Regions from separate parts of the Homo sapiens genome. Here all the other regions are linked to region 1. The links are contacts of gene promoters, found by promoter capture Hi-C in human tissues and cell types (Jung and others, 2019). All regions are on one chromosome and are shown on one strand. The core of a region is centred on a gene start or on the middle of the fragment in contact, and the rest is flanking DNA. Distances in the headings are between cores, read along the strand shown.

The links. The method cuts DNA at HindIII sites, captures the fragments that hold promoters and counts their contacts. A contact is called where the count stands out against the background at its distance.
Region 2: a contact is called between a fragment that was not itself captured here and the fragment with the promoter of CDK5RAP1 in region 1, in 1 of the 25 tissues and cell types used here (H1 embryonic stem cells).
Region 3: a contact is called between a fragment that was not itself captured here and the fragment with the promoter of CDK5RAP1 in region 1, in 1 of the 25 tissues and cell types used here (bladder).
Region 4: a fragment that was not itself captured here is called in contact with the fragment with the promoter of CDK5RAP1 in region 1 in 2 of the 25 tissues and cell types used here (hippocampus and ovary).
Region 5: a contact is called between a fragment that was not itself captured here and the fragment with the promoter of CDK5RAP1 in region 1, in 1 of the 25 tissues and cell types used here (small bowel).

What each region holds. Positions count from the first base shown.
Region 1 is chr20:33,400,114-33,402,869 of GRCh38, reverse strand. CDK5RAP1 (CDK5RAP1 mitochondrial tRNA methylthiotransferase) reads left to right here and starts at 1,351. Exons shown (of 14, transcript NM_016408.4): 1 at 1,351-1,442. LOC124904889 (a long non-coding RNA gene) reads right to left here and starts at 1,288. Exons shown (of 2, transcript XR_007067567.1): 1 at 1,195-1,288. RefSeq lists enhancers at 1,211-1,410, 1,551-1,640. The HindIII fragment of the contact is 17,720 bases long and covers 1-2,756 here.
Region 2 is chr20:34,129,100-34,131,855 of GRCh38, reverse strand. No RefSeq gene overlaps it. Among named protein-coding and RNA genes, the nearest start is that of EIF2S2, 18 kb to the right of the region's middle. RefSeq lists an enhancer at 1,859-2,153. The HindIII fragment of the contact is 4,025 bases long and covers 1-2,756 here.
Region 3 is chr20:34,052,431-34,055,186 of GRCh38, reverse strand. The region is part of intron 2 of RALY (RALY heterogeneous nuclear ribonucleoprotein); the gene reads right to left. Among named protein-coding and RNA genes, the nearest start is that of MIR4755, 4.7 kb to the right of the region's middle. The HindIII fragment of the contact is 3,882 bases long and covers 1-2,756 here.
Region 4 is chr20:34,022,172-34,024,927 of GRCh38, reverse strand. The region is part of intron 1 of RALY (RALY heterogeneous nuclear ribonucleoprotein); the gene reads right to left. Among named protein-coding and RNA genes, the nearest start is that of MIR4755, 26 kb to the left of the region's middle. The HindIII fragment of the contact is 3,139 bases long and covers 1-2,756 here.
Region 5 is chr20:34,003,594-34,006,349 of GRCh38, reverse strand. All of the region lies in intron 1 of RALY (RALY heterogeneous nuclear ribonucleoprotein), which reads right to left. Among named protein-coding and RNA genes, the nearest start is that of RALY-AS1, 11 kb to the right of the region's middle. The HindIII fragment of the contact is 6,853 bases long and covers 1-2,756 here.

The DNA.
Region 1 (2,756 bases), core at 102-2,601:
TTTTGTAGAGATGGGGTTTTATCATGTTGCTCAGGCTAGTCTAGAACTCCTGGGCTCAAGCAATCTGCCCATCTTGGCCTCCCAAAGTGCTGGGATTACAGATGTGAGCCACCACGCCCGGCCTGCCACGGAGAGTTTTCAGGAGAGGGGTGATATAATTTGATTTAATAAAACAAACACAAATTCCCTTAGGCTATGTGTGGGAAACTGTTCTCAGGAGACAAGGTGACCATTAGCAGGCTACTGTGATTGTTTCTGATGAGACAATGGTGGCCTGGGTAGTTGTAGCTACCGAGTAGACAGATTTGACATTTTGGAGTTAGAGTTGACAGGGCTTACTGACAGATAGAATGTGGGGATCCAGGGAGGTGAAGAAAATGACCATTCAGTTCCTCCTAGTGCACCTGGAAGGATGGTTGGGCCATTTACTGAGATGGGCCAGAATGACAGGTACAGGTTTTTGGTGAAGGTGCATGTGTGGAAATGAAGAGTTCTGTATAAGTTAGAGATGGTCATCAGACACTCAAGAAGGGGTGTCAAGTAGGCAGCTGAGCTATGGCTCTGGTACTGCAGGGAGGGTCCAGCTGGAGATGTGAATCAGGAAGTCATTAACCTACAGGGCAGCACCCTCCAATAGAAATAGAGCGTGAACCTCTTAGGTGACTTAAAATTTCCCAGTAAGGACCGGACACGGTGGCTCATGCCTACAATCCCAGCACTTTGGGAGGCCAAGGTGGGAGGATGGCTTGCGCCTAGGTAGGAGTTTGAGACCAGCCTGGGCAACATGGGGAGACCGGTCTCTACAAAAAAATTAAAAAAATTTTAGCTGGGCGTGGTGGCGCCTGCCTGTAGTCCCAGCCACTTGGGAGTGTGAGGTGGGAGGATTGCTTTAGCATGGGAGGCGGAAGCTGCAGTGAGCCATGATCACACCATATTATTTTTCCCCCTGCTAGCCACATTGAAAAAGTAAAAAGAAACAACAGGTGAACTTAATTCAAATATTTCTACCACCATAGCTACAAATAAAAAAAACTAATTCAACAAATGTACTTATTTAATCCAATATATCCCAACAATTATTGCAGCACATAATCAATATAAACATTATATATATGAACTATTTGACACTATTTGACATTTCTTCTTCCACATCCAGTGTATCTGACATTTAGCGCACATTTGATTTGCACTCACCCACTTTGAGGAGCTCAATTGCCGCTTAAGTCCGTGGCTAGTGGCTGCCCTAAAGTTCAGCACCGCCACGGAGCTTTGGGTCCACCCGGACTGTAAAAAGGAAGCACTTCCGTTAGCATGACCCGGCCTGAAGTAGCGGCGGAACGGAAGTCGCTTGTGTATGAACGCAGCGGCGGACCTGTGAGGGGATCCGACTTGCCGGCAGAACTTACGCTGCGGGACCCCGGGCACTGTTGCTGCTGCGGGAGGTGAGCAGCGCGGCCGCCGGGGTGGGCTGCGCACCCGCTTTTGACTGGCGCCTGGGGCAGGAGGGGCCGCGGATCCCGGGAAGCGCACGGTGTTCAAGAGGGAGGATGGCACGGTGGTTATGGCGTGGGGCCTGGCGTCAGGCTGTAGGGGTTCGTACCCTAACCCCGCCGCCTAACCCCGTGTGACCTTGGACAGGTCACCTCCACTTCTTTCAAGGCTTCGCTTCGCCACCCGTGAAGTGGGGTTGACAGTACAGCCTGCCTCACAGGGTTGCTATGAGGGTTATAGGTAATAATTCGCGGAAAATGCTTTGCACCATGCCTAACGCATTGTAACCAGCCAATAAAATGTTTGGGATGTTGTACGCTGTTGTTCCAGCCTCATTGCCGACTGTCAGAATTAATTTCGAGCCTCCAGAGAGGCTTCTACATTGCGTTATGCAAAGCATTTTGCTTGTATTATTGCATTTGATCCTACGGTAGGCTTATGGAGATAGGTGCTATTATCCCCATCTAGAGGCTCCCAGAGTTTAAGACAGGTGCCTAAGGTTTAGCTGGCTTGGCAGCAGTGGGGTCAGATTCTGACTCCAGGGTCCATACTTTTTTTTTCTTGAGACGGGAGTCTTGCTCTGTCGCCCAGGCTGGAGTGCAGTGACGCGATCTCGGCTCACTGTAGCCCCTGCCCCGCGAGTTCCAGCGATTCTCCTGCCTCAGCCTCCTGGGTAGCTAGGATTACAGGCGCATACCACCACACCCGGCTAAGTTTTGTATTTTTAGTGGAGTTCATACTCTTAACCAGGATGCTCTAATACTCTCTGTGAAAGGGGGTGTGGGCTGTAAATGTGCAGTTAGTGAACGCTTACTGTATCTCAAGTTGGGTTTTTAATATCTTATTCTTAATAACACTTATGGGGTGGTAGGTGCTGCTTTTATCCTTATTTTACACATGTGGAATTGGCGGCTCAGAGACAGAAATTTGTCTTGCCAAAGGTCACACAGCAATTATGGAGTAGAAAGGGGCGATTTTAAAGTTCACACTTTAAGGCTGTTCTTCTCTGACTCTTGAAACTGGGTTGGCATTGCTCCTAAGTGCTAGTAGCAGATGTGGCAGGTCATCTCATTGGAAAGGTAATGGGCCACATCTGCTCTTTACACGTGTATAGCAGGGTTCCCCTAACCCTAGGTGGTAGAATGGTACCTGTCTGTGGCCTGTGAGGAACCGGGTTGCACAGCAGGAGGTGAGCAGCAAAGCTGGCATTACTGCCTGAGCTCTGCCTCCCGTCAGATTGGCCACGGAATTAGTTTCTCAGGAAC
Region 2 (2,756 bases), core at 179-2,678, 730 kb before region 1:
AGACCGTGGGGAGAGGGAGATGGAGACAGAGATGGAGAGGGAGGGGGAGAGGGAGAGGGAAAGGGAGAGTTCTTTTTTGTTTAACCAATTGAGTTTTGAGTGTTCTATTAGTTCTTTCAACTATGGCCTATCCTTGGGAATTATAGGGAATTCCTGTTGTATGTGTAATTTTCCACTGATTTAAGAATTTTTGGAATGTTTTACTACAGTATCCTGGCCCATTGTCAGTTTTAATTTTTTCCAGAACTCCCATGAGAGCAAAACAATATAATAAATGTCTTTTAACATGGGAAGTACTTTCTCCTGTCTCGCAAGTTGCCCATACGAAATGTGAATAAGTATCAACTGTCACATGGACAAATGATAATTTTCCAAATGAAGATACATGTGTGACATCCGTTTGCCATAACGCATTAGGACATAGACCTCTGGGATTAACTCCCGCCTCTTGAGTGGGCAGGTGTAGGACTTGACTCTGGGTGCAATGTTGTACAATATTTTTTGCCTGTTTCCATGAGATATCAAATTTATTTTTAATCCTGCTGCATTTACATGAGTCAAAGCATGAAGTTCTTGTGCTTTTATGAATGCAGATGATACCAGTAAGTCAGCTTGTTCATTTGCTTTAGTTAAAGACCCTGGTAAATTAGTGTGTGCTTCAATGTGAGTAATACAAAATGGGAAATTTCTTTTTCTCACAGTTTGTTGTAATAAGTTGAACAGCTGGTTTAACTGATCATCAATACTATATTTGATTAGGGCTGTCTCAACATCCCTTGTAGCCTGTACTACATATGCAGAATCTGATACAATATTAATAGGCTGATTAAAATCTTGTAACACTGTAATGACTGTAACCAACTCTGCTCTTTGAGCCCAGTGATATTGAGTTTCGATGACTTGTTCTTTTGGCCCAATGTAAGCTGCTTTTTCATTGCTGGAACCATTAGTAAACACCGTCAGAGCATTTTCTAAAGGTTCATGTCTGGTAATTTTAGGTAAAATCCAAGTAGTCAATTTTAAAAACTGGAAGGTTTTTGTTTTTGGGTAATGATTGTCAATAATTCCCACAAAATCAGCAAGACCAGTCTGCCATGTACAAGAATTGATAAAGGCTTGTCTAACCTGTTCCTTGTTTAAAGGAACAATGATTTTGTCTGGGTCACTTCCACACAATTTTATTATTCATAACCTTGCCTGACCAATTAATGTAGCTATTTGATGCAATGTAAAAGTCTTAATTGTACTGTGAGGAAGGAATGACCACTCCACAAGATCAGTATTTTGAACAATGATGCCTGTCAGAGAATGTGCAGTAGCAAAAATCAAAAGTTGGAGTGGGACCAAGGGATCTATTCTATTTACTTGTGCTGACCAAATTTTTTCTTCAACTAATTCAATTTCTTTTGCTGCCTCTGGGGTCAATATTCTTTTACTATTTAAGTCCGGGTCCCCTCTTAAGATAGAGAACAAATTTGACATGGCATAAGTAGGAATGCCTAAAATTGGCCAAATCCAATTAATATCTCCTAGCAATTTTTGAAAGTCATTTAATGTTTTTAATGTGTCTTTTCTTATTTCTATTTTTTGTGGTTTAATTTTTCTATTTTTTACCTGCATCTATGTTAACTGGGATTGGCGGCCCTATTTTTGCGGATCTGTTGTTGTACCCCATCAATCCACCAGGTCTTAAATTGTAAAAATTGAGAAGGTGAGAGTGATGATTTGGCCAAAATTTCCCAGTCATAAGGAATAAGTCTATTTCCATGAGCAATGGAATCTAATAATGTTCTCATATAAGGAGAATTGGGTCCATACTGTTTTACTCCCTCTTTCATGTCTTTTAGCATTTTTATAGAAAAGGACTCATATCTGGCATCAGCTTGGGGAGGGCCCTTCTCCAGGTAGTATGGGCTCTAATATTACTTGAAATTAAAACGCCTCAGTATCTCTCCTTGTTTTCTTGCCTTCTCAATAATTTCATGTAATGCACCATCCTGTCCACTAGGTGGTGGTGTAGGATTAAGTCTCATAGTGGGCAGCTGAGGCTATATCGCCGTGCGTGCCCTGTGGTGCTGGAAACGTTCCTGGCTGTCCATACTGATTTTCTGGGGGGCGGCTGATACTGAAGTTCGGCTGGCGGTCAGTATTGATAGGGTACTGGCGGTTGGGTCTTACTTTCTACCAGCTGATATTGTGAATACTGTATCTGGATTGGCATTGCTGTGATAGAGACTATCCTTTTCTATCTGATATTCTCTTGGGGTTTGTACTTGTCTAACCTGCATTTGAGGTTGTAATGTTACGGGCATCTGAACTGTGGGAGGAGGAGTTGGCCATCGTGGGTTAGACTCTGATGGCCCCAATAGTTCTAGACCTTTTCCCCCCAATTTTGATGGTTCATAATATATTACCTCCTGTAATTGGTTGTAGTCAACATTTTCCGTTGACTGAGCCATTACACTCTTCTACCCTTTTTTTCTTTTTTTTTTTTTCGAGACGGAGTCTCGCTCTGTTGCCCAGGCTGGAGTGCAGTGGTGCCATCTCGGCTCACTGCAAGCTCCGCCTCCCAGGTTCACGCCATTCTCCTGCCTCAGCCTCCCGAGTAGCTGGGACTACAGACACCTGCCACGACGCCTGGCTAAGTTTTTGTATTTTTTTAGTAAAGACAGGGTTTCACTGTGTTAGCCAGGACGGTCTCGATCTCCTGACCTTGTGATCCATCCGCCTCGGCCTCCCACAGTGCTGGGATTACA
Region 3 (2,756 bases), core at 176-2,675, 650 kb before region 1:
GTTGTTTTAGGAAAATGACTCTGGAATCAGACTACCTGGGGTTCAAATCCCAGCTCTGCTATACGTTGGCTGTATGATCCTGGGTAAATGATTTAACCTCTCTGTGCCTGGTTTTCTCATTTGTAAAAATGGGAATAATATTACAGTACTTTCTCCATAAGGCTGTTGTGAGAATTCAATGAGATAATGTTAAGATAATGCAAGTTAAGTGCTCAGGAATTTTCTAAATGAAAATGGTATTACTATTGCCCCCATTTAACAGATAGCTCAAAATATCATACTCAACATTGAGTAAGGTTAAGAGGGAGACCGCTTCATCAATAAAGTACAACTGGAACCAATTTCTTTCTTTCTTTCTTTTTTTTTTTTTTGAGACAGTCTCATTCTGTCACCCAGGCTGGAGTGTGACCTCAGCTCACTGCAACCTCCACCTCCCAGGTTCAAGCGATTCTTGTGCCTCAGCCCCCCAAGTAGCTGGGATGCCAGGCATACACCATCACGCCTGGCTAATTTTTGTATTTTTAGTAGAGACAAAGTTTCACCACATTGGTCAGGCTGGTCTCGAACGCCTGACCTCAAGTGATCCACCTGCCTCAGCCTCCCGAAGTGCTGGGATTACAGGCTTGAGCCACCATGCCCAGCCTGCAACCAATTTCTGATCTGGCAGTGGTGGCTGGGGCCAGGAGTTTTCTGAGTACAAACCCACTGATGTGACGTCCCTGTAGAAAACTCTTCGGGAAAGCTTTTGTATCCCACCCCGTAGGCAGATCCAGCCACTCACTCCTCTGGACCCAGATACTCTCTGCTGACCTCTACTGCAACATCTGCTGCACTTTTGTATTTACACATCTGTCTCCCTCCATTAAATTCTGAACTCCTTGAAGGCAGAGACTATTTTATTAATCTTTGCAATCCCAGCCTCCAGCACTATACTAGCAACCAGTGAAATTTCTGCTAGTGAACAGGTGAAAGAATCCTAGGTGGGCGTTTTTCAGTAAATGGTTTCCCAAGGTACATGATACAACAACTCCTTAACAGTGAACCGTGTAGCTGATGTTTGTGAGATGAGCTCAAATTCCTCATCCATCAGCAGAATAGAAGGAGATGTAAGACACTGATGAGAAAGAAAATAAAGGAGAAGGCAGAGTGAGAAGCTGGGGGTCACTGGCATCATTGTTCAGTATACTACAGGGAGCAAAGGCAACAAAAGCTTGAGTCTGCAGCCCAGAGACTACTGAATCTGGGCTTTCTGTAGTGGGTAGTATGTATAAGGACAGCAGCAAAGGCCAGAAAATGCCATCCTTGTCAGCAATATCAATAGTGACAGAGATTCAGCCCTCCCTCTCTTTATTATCTGGTCACCCTGAGATGAAGCCCAACCACTGGCCCCACCAAGCTATCTTAATGGAAAGAATACTGGGCAAAGAGTTAGGAGACCATAAGTTAATCCCTGAGAATGTACTAAAATTTTCAATTAATAAATATTTCTTGGCTAGGCATGGTGGCTCACGCCTGTAATCCTAATACTTTGGGAGGCCAAAGCAGGAGGACTGCTTGAGCTCAGGAGTTCAAGACCAGTCTGGGCAATATAGTGGGAGCCTGTCTCTAAAAACAATTAAAAATTAGCCGGGCATGGTGGTACATGTTTATAGTCCCAGTTACTTGGGAGGCTGAGGTGGGAGGACTGCTTGAGCCCAGAAGGTTGGACCTGCAGTGAGCCATGACTGTGCCATTGCACTATAGCCTGGGTGACACAGCGAGGCCTTGTCTCAAAAAAAAAAAAAAAAAAAAAAAAAAAAAAAATTATTGAACATCTACTAAATGTTGGCCTTGCACTAGGCACTTGTGAAAAGGGTCTATCACTAATTTGCCGTCAAACCCTGGACAAGTCACCATCTCTTTTCTGAACCTTAACGTCCTCATATGATACATGGAAAAGAACCTCTATGTCACGGGATTGTGTTGTGATCAGATGTGCTTTGAACAATCTACCATATAAACTTGCAAATTTAAAGGTGATATTTTTGGGCTGGATGTGGTGGCTCACACCTGTAATCCCAGCACTTTGGGAGGCCGAGGCAGGCGGATCACCTGAGGTCAGGAGTTCGAGATCAGCCTGGCCAACAGAGTGAAAAAAAAAAAAAGTTTCTTTTTAAACTTGATTTGATCTTAACTAGAGGGCTTAGTAAAATGCAAGGATAGCCCCACTAAATGCCAAAGCCAACTTCCTCTGCCACTGTCTGGATAGAAATCCAGCAGAACATTCCTACCCCCTCAATTTTGTGATGGAGACGGTGACAGAGGAGCAGAAACTTACACATTCTCTTCAAACCCCTCTCAGGATCTTTTTTATATTACTGGTGTCAGAGCTTAGTTCTTAGTAGGAGCTGGACTGTGGGGACTGTGGGCCTACTGGATGAGTCCCCCAGATATAACTCAAATTTCTTACAGCAGGAAGAACAGAGTTCGACTTTGCACGGTAAGGGCACCTTTCCAGTTACTGAGATAATTACTTGACCCCTGGTCCTTCAACTGTTTGGAAACATCTGATGGCCATTAAGCCTGTTGTTTCCTCATTTTCCTGCCTACTGGGATAAACACATCAAAACAGAAAGCTTGATGCTCTAACAATGCTCTCTGATTAGTGGTTTGCAGGATCCTCTGTAATTTTAGGATTTGCTGGCTAGAAAAGGAACAATAGTGGAGTACAAATTATGGTGTGGCCTAGGAAAAAGTTAGGCACCCTGAGATTTAGA
Region 4 (2,756 bases), core at 135-2,634, 620 kb before region 1:
TATCCCAGCCTTTACTAAACCCCATGGTCTTGCAGTTCTCCCAGACTCCTCCCCTCACAAGGATACCTGACCTTGACTCTTGTGACTGGCTCTACTGTATGGTTGCCTATGCCCAGGCATAATAAAACTACTGGCTGTGTTGCTGTGGGGGTAAAAAAAATGACCTCACAACATAATAAAAAATGCAGCCAGGACACAAAATGGGTCAGTAAAACCCTCCCATACTCCCAAACAAAGACAGGTGTCAGGATGCCCAGTGTATCAAAAAGTAGGCCCTAGAGGACAGCTGGTTTCTTAATGACAGGTGACATTAGGGGTCTTGAGCCCAACCCATGTTCACGTATGAGAACATAATGCATGCCATAAATAGATGAAACTCAATCTAGGCAGTCTCCAAGCTGCCTGGAGGAACGTCCACAGAATACAACAGATGTGCAAGACAATCATTCTTGCCTCTGCATTTTCTGGGCAGCTAACAGCATTTCTCCTTTCTCAGCTGAAGCTATCTCTAGTTTTCCCCTCCTCCTTCCCTAGAAGATCCAACCCTGCAGGAATTATCAAGGGAGGCACGAGTAATTACTGTTTTCTTTTCTCCATGCTAATGAGACAGTTGGATGGTTCCCCTTCCCCCTCTTGAGCTGGAAGTGAGAATCTAAAGCTTTATAATCAGTAACCAACACACCAAAGCTCCGACCAGACACTGCTCTGTGCAACTGAGACTGTGTAGAAAATGGCTTTCATGCCCCTGATGAGACCAGAGTTGGAAGGGCTCAACCATTTTATAAAAAGGGAGGTAAGACCAGAGCAGGGAGGGGAATCTGTCCAAAGTCACAGAGGGAAGTCAGTGGCAGGGCCAGAACCAGTCTCCTTATTCCCAATCAGGCCACCTCTCACCTCACTCAGACCATGTTGGCCAGGCTGGTCTCGAACTCCTGATAATCTCAGGTGATCCGCCCGCCTTGGACTCCCAAAGTGCTGGGATTACAGGCGTGAGCCACCACACCCAGCCTGTCATTGGTTTTTGAATACCTATTCAAAAACTGATATGTAAGCTTGAAATTTGCAGTTCCAGCCTCCACACTGAGGTCCCCTCCAAAGTTATTCTATACTGTATTAAGTCTGAGTGAGGTGAGAGGTGGCCTGATTGGGAATAAGGAGACTGGTTCTGGCCCTATTATACCATAGACTGACTGTGGGGCTCTTGTGATACTCCAGCATATGATCAGTGCTGACCATAAGGCTTCACTTTCTAGAGTGCACAAAATTAGGTGCTTTATTCTATAAATGGGGTTAGCTCCACATGAGAGCCCCTGCCTTAGTCACCCGCTTAAGACTTCAGACCCCCACCCCCTCGAACTAAAGCCCAACTCAAAATCCAAGGACAGGCCTCCCCACCAATGGCCATTGTCCAGAGACTGCTTGCCAGCCTGGATGTCCACTTGGGTTTGCTGCTCTCTCCACCCCTCTGTAAGGAAGGCAGCATATAGTAGAAACAATTAGCAGATAGACCTAGGTTTAAGCCATGGCTCTCCCACCAAAACTGGGTATCCTTGGTGCTTTGACCACCGTTCACTTGCCTGTCTCTTCTACCACTCTTCCCTACTTGGGAGCAAGAAATATTCAGTTGTTTTCCTGTATCCACAATGAGTCAGTCACTGTCTACCAAATGATACTCTCTAAAACTTAAGTCCTCACATTTGTAAAATGGTGATTAAATCACCTACCTCAGAATAGTGAAGATAAATGAGGGGAAAAAATTACGTAAACTGCCTAGACTAGTGCCTGGCCCTTCTTCCTCTACTGTATCTTGGATTCCCAGGGCCAAAAGTTTGTCTGTACTGAACTACACAGCCCATCCTGGAGACATCATGCCTTGCTGACGGGGTCTGTTCCACTCTAGCAGTCAGACTGACTGCCAGTTCCTGGAACTCTACCAATAAAAACAGATACGACTACTCTCCTCACAGGTGAAGGTAGTGAATTTCAAGCAAATGATCTTTGAGCATATACTAATATTCTAGATTGAAAAGAGAGGGGAACTTTGGGGGAAAAAATGCTATGCTATGAAGCTGGAGGCTTAGAGAAGAAATCCCAAGTCCCAAAAAGTGGCTGAAGATAATCTGCACTGGAGCCTACAGAAGGGCCAGAGACATGAAATGAATTGCCTTTGGTCACATAGGAAGCTGAAGGCAGAAATGAGCTTAAAACTCACCACTGTGGTCTCCCTAGATGGTACTTTTTCCGTCCTTCAGGGCAGATGCACAGTGCTGAAGGAAAAAGGAAGTGAGGCATAGGAGGCTCAGTAGAGTGGCAGGGAGAGGCACATAGGGACATCAAGTGGCACTTACAAAGTTTCTGTTTGGTAAAGGTGACTGAGGGATAAAGCCAGCCTTTAGTTTCGTAGGGGCCTTATGTGCTCTGGCAGTTGAGGGGCAGAAACAAGTTCAAACTGGCCAGAACAAGTGTCAACAGTTATGGAGGGGAAAGGTATAGGGTGTCTCAAAGTATCATAAGCCCCTCCACCCACAACATCAGCTGCTTTGAGTGATCAAAACCTTCTGCCTACCCATCCCCAACTTCTCAACTCATACTATGATCCAGATTTTCTACGGTATCTGTCTTTTCCACTAGAGGGCCCTCAAACTTAAAAACTAGGGGTGAGGTATAAGGTATAGAGAAGAGAATAAGAGCTTTGTCCAGGCTGTGCATGGTGGCTCCCATCTATAAACCCAGCAGTTTGGCAGGCCGAGACAGGA
Region 5 (2,756 bases), core at 138-2,637, 600 kb before region 1:
GAAGTCATCTTTTAGAGACACACTGTGAAATATTTAAGGACAAAATATGATAGCTGAGATTTTCTTCAAAGCACAAAATGAAGAAAAGTAGGTAGGGGTATAAATGAAACAAGACTGACAATGAATTGCTAACTGTTGAAGCCAAGTGATGGGTAAATCATATTTCATTAACCTATTCGATTTTGTGTATGTTTGAAATTTTCCATATTAAAAATAAAGAGGAATTGGTTAGGTTTCAATCCTAGCCAACTCCATCTATCATATCAGCAGCGTGACCACGGCATATCTTTCTTTTGTTTGTTTATAGCATCTTTATTCATAATTGACAAAATTTGGAAGCAACCAATGACACCTTCAATAGGTGGATAAACTGTGGCACATCCAGACAATGAAATATTATTCAGCATTAAACAGAAATGAGCTATCAAAACATAAAAAGACATGGAAGAAACTTAAATGGATATTACTAAGTGAAAGAGGCAAATCTGAAAAGGCTACATACTGTATGATTCCAACTGTATGACGTTCTGCAAAGACGTATCTGTGAAGACTATAAAAAGACCAGTGGTTGCCCACGGCATATCTCTTAACCTCCCTTTGTCTCAGTTTCCAATCTGTATGATCACGATCAATACAACCTACTTCTTAGGGTTGAGGTGAGAATGAAATAATATTTTATATGTATAAAAGGCTTCGCACATAGTAACCTTCAGTAAATATTAGCTCTATTAGTATAAACAAAAGGTACCAAGTATGATATCTCAACACAGTGGACACTCAATATCACTAATATGCAAGGCTGTGTTAACATTTAAAACCCAGGTCAGATTTTTTTTTTTTTTGAGAAAGAGTCTCACTCTGTCACCAGGCTGGAGCGCAGTGGCACGATCTTGGCTCATTACAACCTCCAACTCCCTGGTTCAAGTGATTCTCCTGCTTCAGCCTCCCCAGTAGCTGGGATTACAGGCACGCGCCACCACGCCCAGCTAATTTTGCTATTTTTAGTAGAGACGGGGTTTCACTACTCCGTCAGGATGGTCTCGATCTCCTGACCTCATGATCTGCCTGCCTCAGCCTCCCAAAGTGTCAGGATTACAGGCCATGAGCCACTGCACCCAGCCCATCAGATTTTTAAATCAACTACTCGACTAGTCTCCTCGAGAGGGGGCCTAGAAATTCTCTAGTGAATGTCCCTAGTGGCATCTCTAGCACCCTGTCTATCTTGACAAACACCCCGCGACCTGACACAGGATCAGAAGCTGACTAATGTTTAACATGAAAATGCTGCTCTCTGGAAGGAGGCAGGGCCACCCTATTTTCCCCAACCAGGTAATTTAAGGTACATTTTCTAATATTTGCTGACAGAACAAAGAGGAAAGGCTCTAAGACATGATCAATGTTCATGCCAACCTTCAAAGTGATTTGGTAAAACTACACAAAATAAACACCCAGCTAGGGTCCACCGGCAGGATAAAAGCTGACAAAGAAATGGCAATTTTTCCCTGAGCAAATATACAACTAATAGATGAGCTCTGAGAGACTAAGTTCTTTAGGTTTTAGTATTCCCTCCCCAACCATTTTAAGAAGAAAAACTCTCTTTTGATATACTTCAGGTATGACTGTTTACTGGATTAATTTCTTTCTTGAAATGATGTAAGTATAAGCAAAGAGCTCATTCTCATCCTTTTATCCAGTTTAAATACAAATTGGCTTCATAACGACATGACCTTGTTCTGCTCTGAGAGGCTATGAGAAGGTATCACCCATCTCCAAAGTGTGGGACACTTCCACCACCTGCTCATTAGCAGGAATATGGATACTACTCGGTCTAGTCATTCATCTGTGCCTCTACTCAAGTTGTTCCCATTGCACAGAATGTTCTCCATCTCTGCAGCCTAATCACCTGTGACCATTCTTTCTGGAAAAGGGGGGAAGGGAAGCACATCGGTTGAGAAAAGATAACTGGGTGTTGCTTCTGCATAGTATGGGAGATAAGGTACAGACATGGCAATATTGATTGGTATTTCATAATCTGTAAGTACAACCAGACAGAATATTAGAAATTAAAATGGTCCTGGACAACAGATGGTCATTATCCTTATCCTACAAAGTCCAGCACAAATACTCACTGGTCCACAAATGTTCCTTGGGAACTCCCCCTCTGCCCCTCCTCCATGTACAAAGGAAGCAATCTCTTCCCCTTCTGAACTTCCCAATCATTGTACCCCTTTATGGTACTTGCTATGTGAGAATTCATAGTATGGTTCTTAAAATTCATATCTATAACTACTAACCAGAATGGCTTCAAATGAAAAAGATAGACAATGCCAAGTATTTACAACAACACAGAACAACAGCAATTTTCTCATCACTAACCATGTAACCTGGTAGACCTTTTAAAACTGTTTGGAGGCCGGGCACGGTGGCTCACGCCTGTAATCCCAGCACTTTGGGAGGCGGAGGCGGGCGGATCACGAGGTCAGGAGATCGAGACCATCCCGGCTAAAACGGTGAAACCCTGTCTCTACTAAAAATACAAAAAATTAGCCAGGCGTAGTGGCGGGCGCCTGTAGTCCCAGCTACTTGGGAGGCTGAGGCAGGAGAATGGCGTGAACCCGGGAGGCGGAGCTTGCAGTGAGCCGAGATCCCGCCACTGCACTCCAGCCTGGGCGACAGAGCGAGACTCCGTCTCAAAAAAAAAAAAAAAAAAAAAAACTGTTTGGCATATTTACCAAAGGTAAACATATGCCTAACCT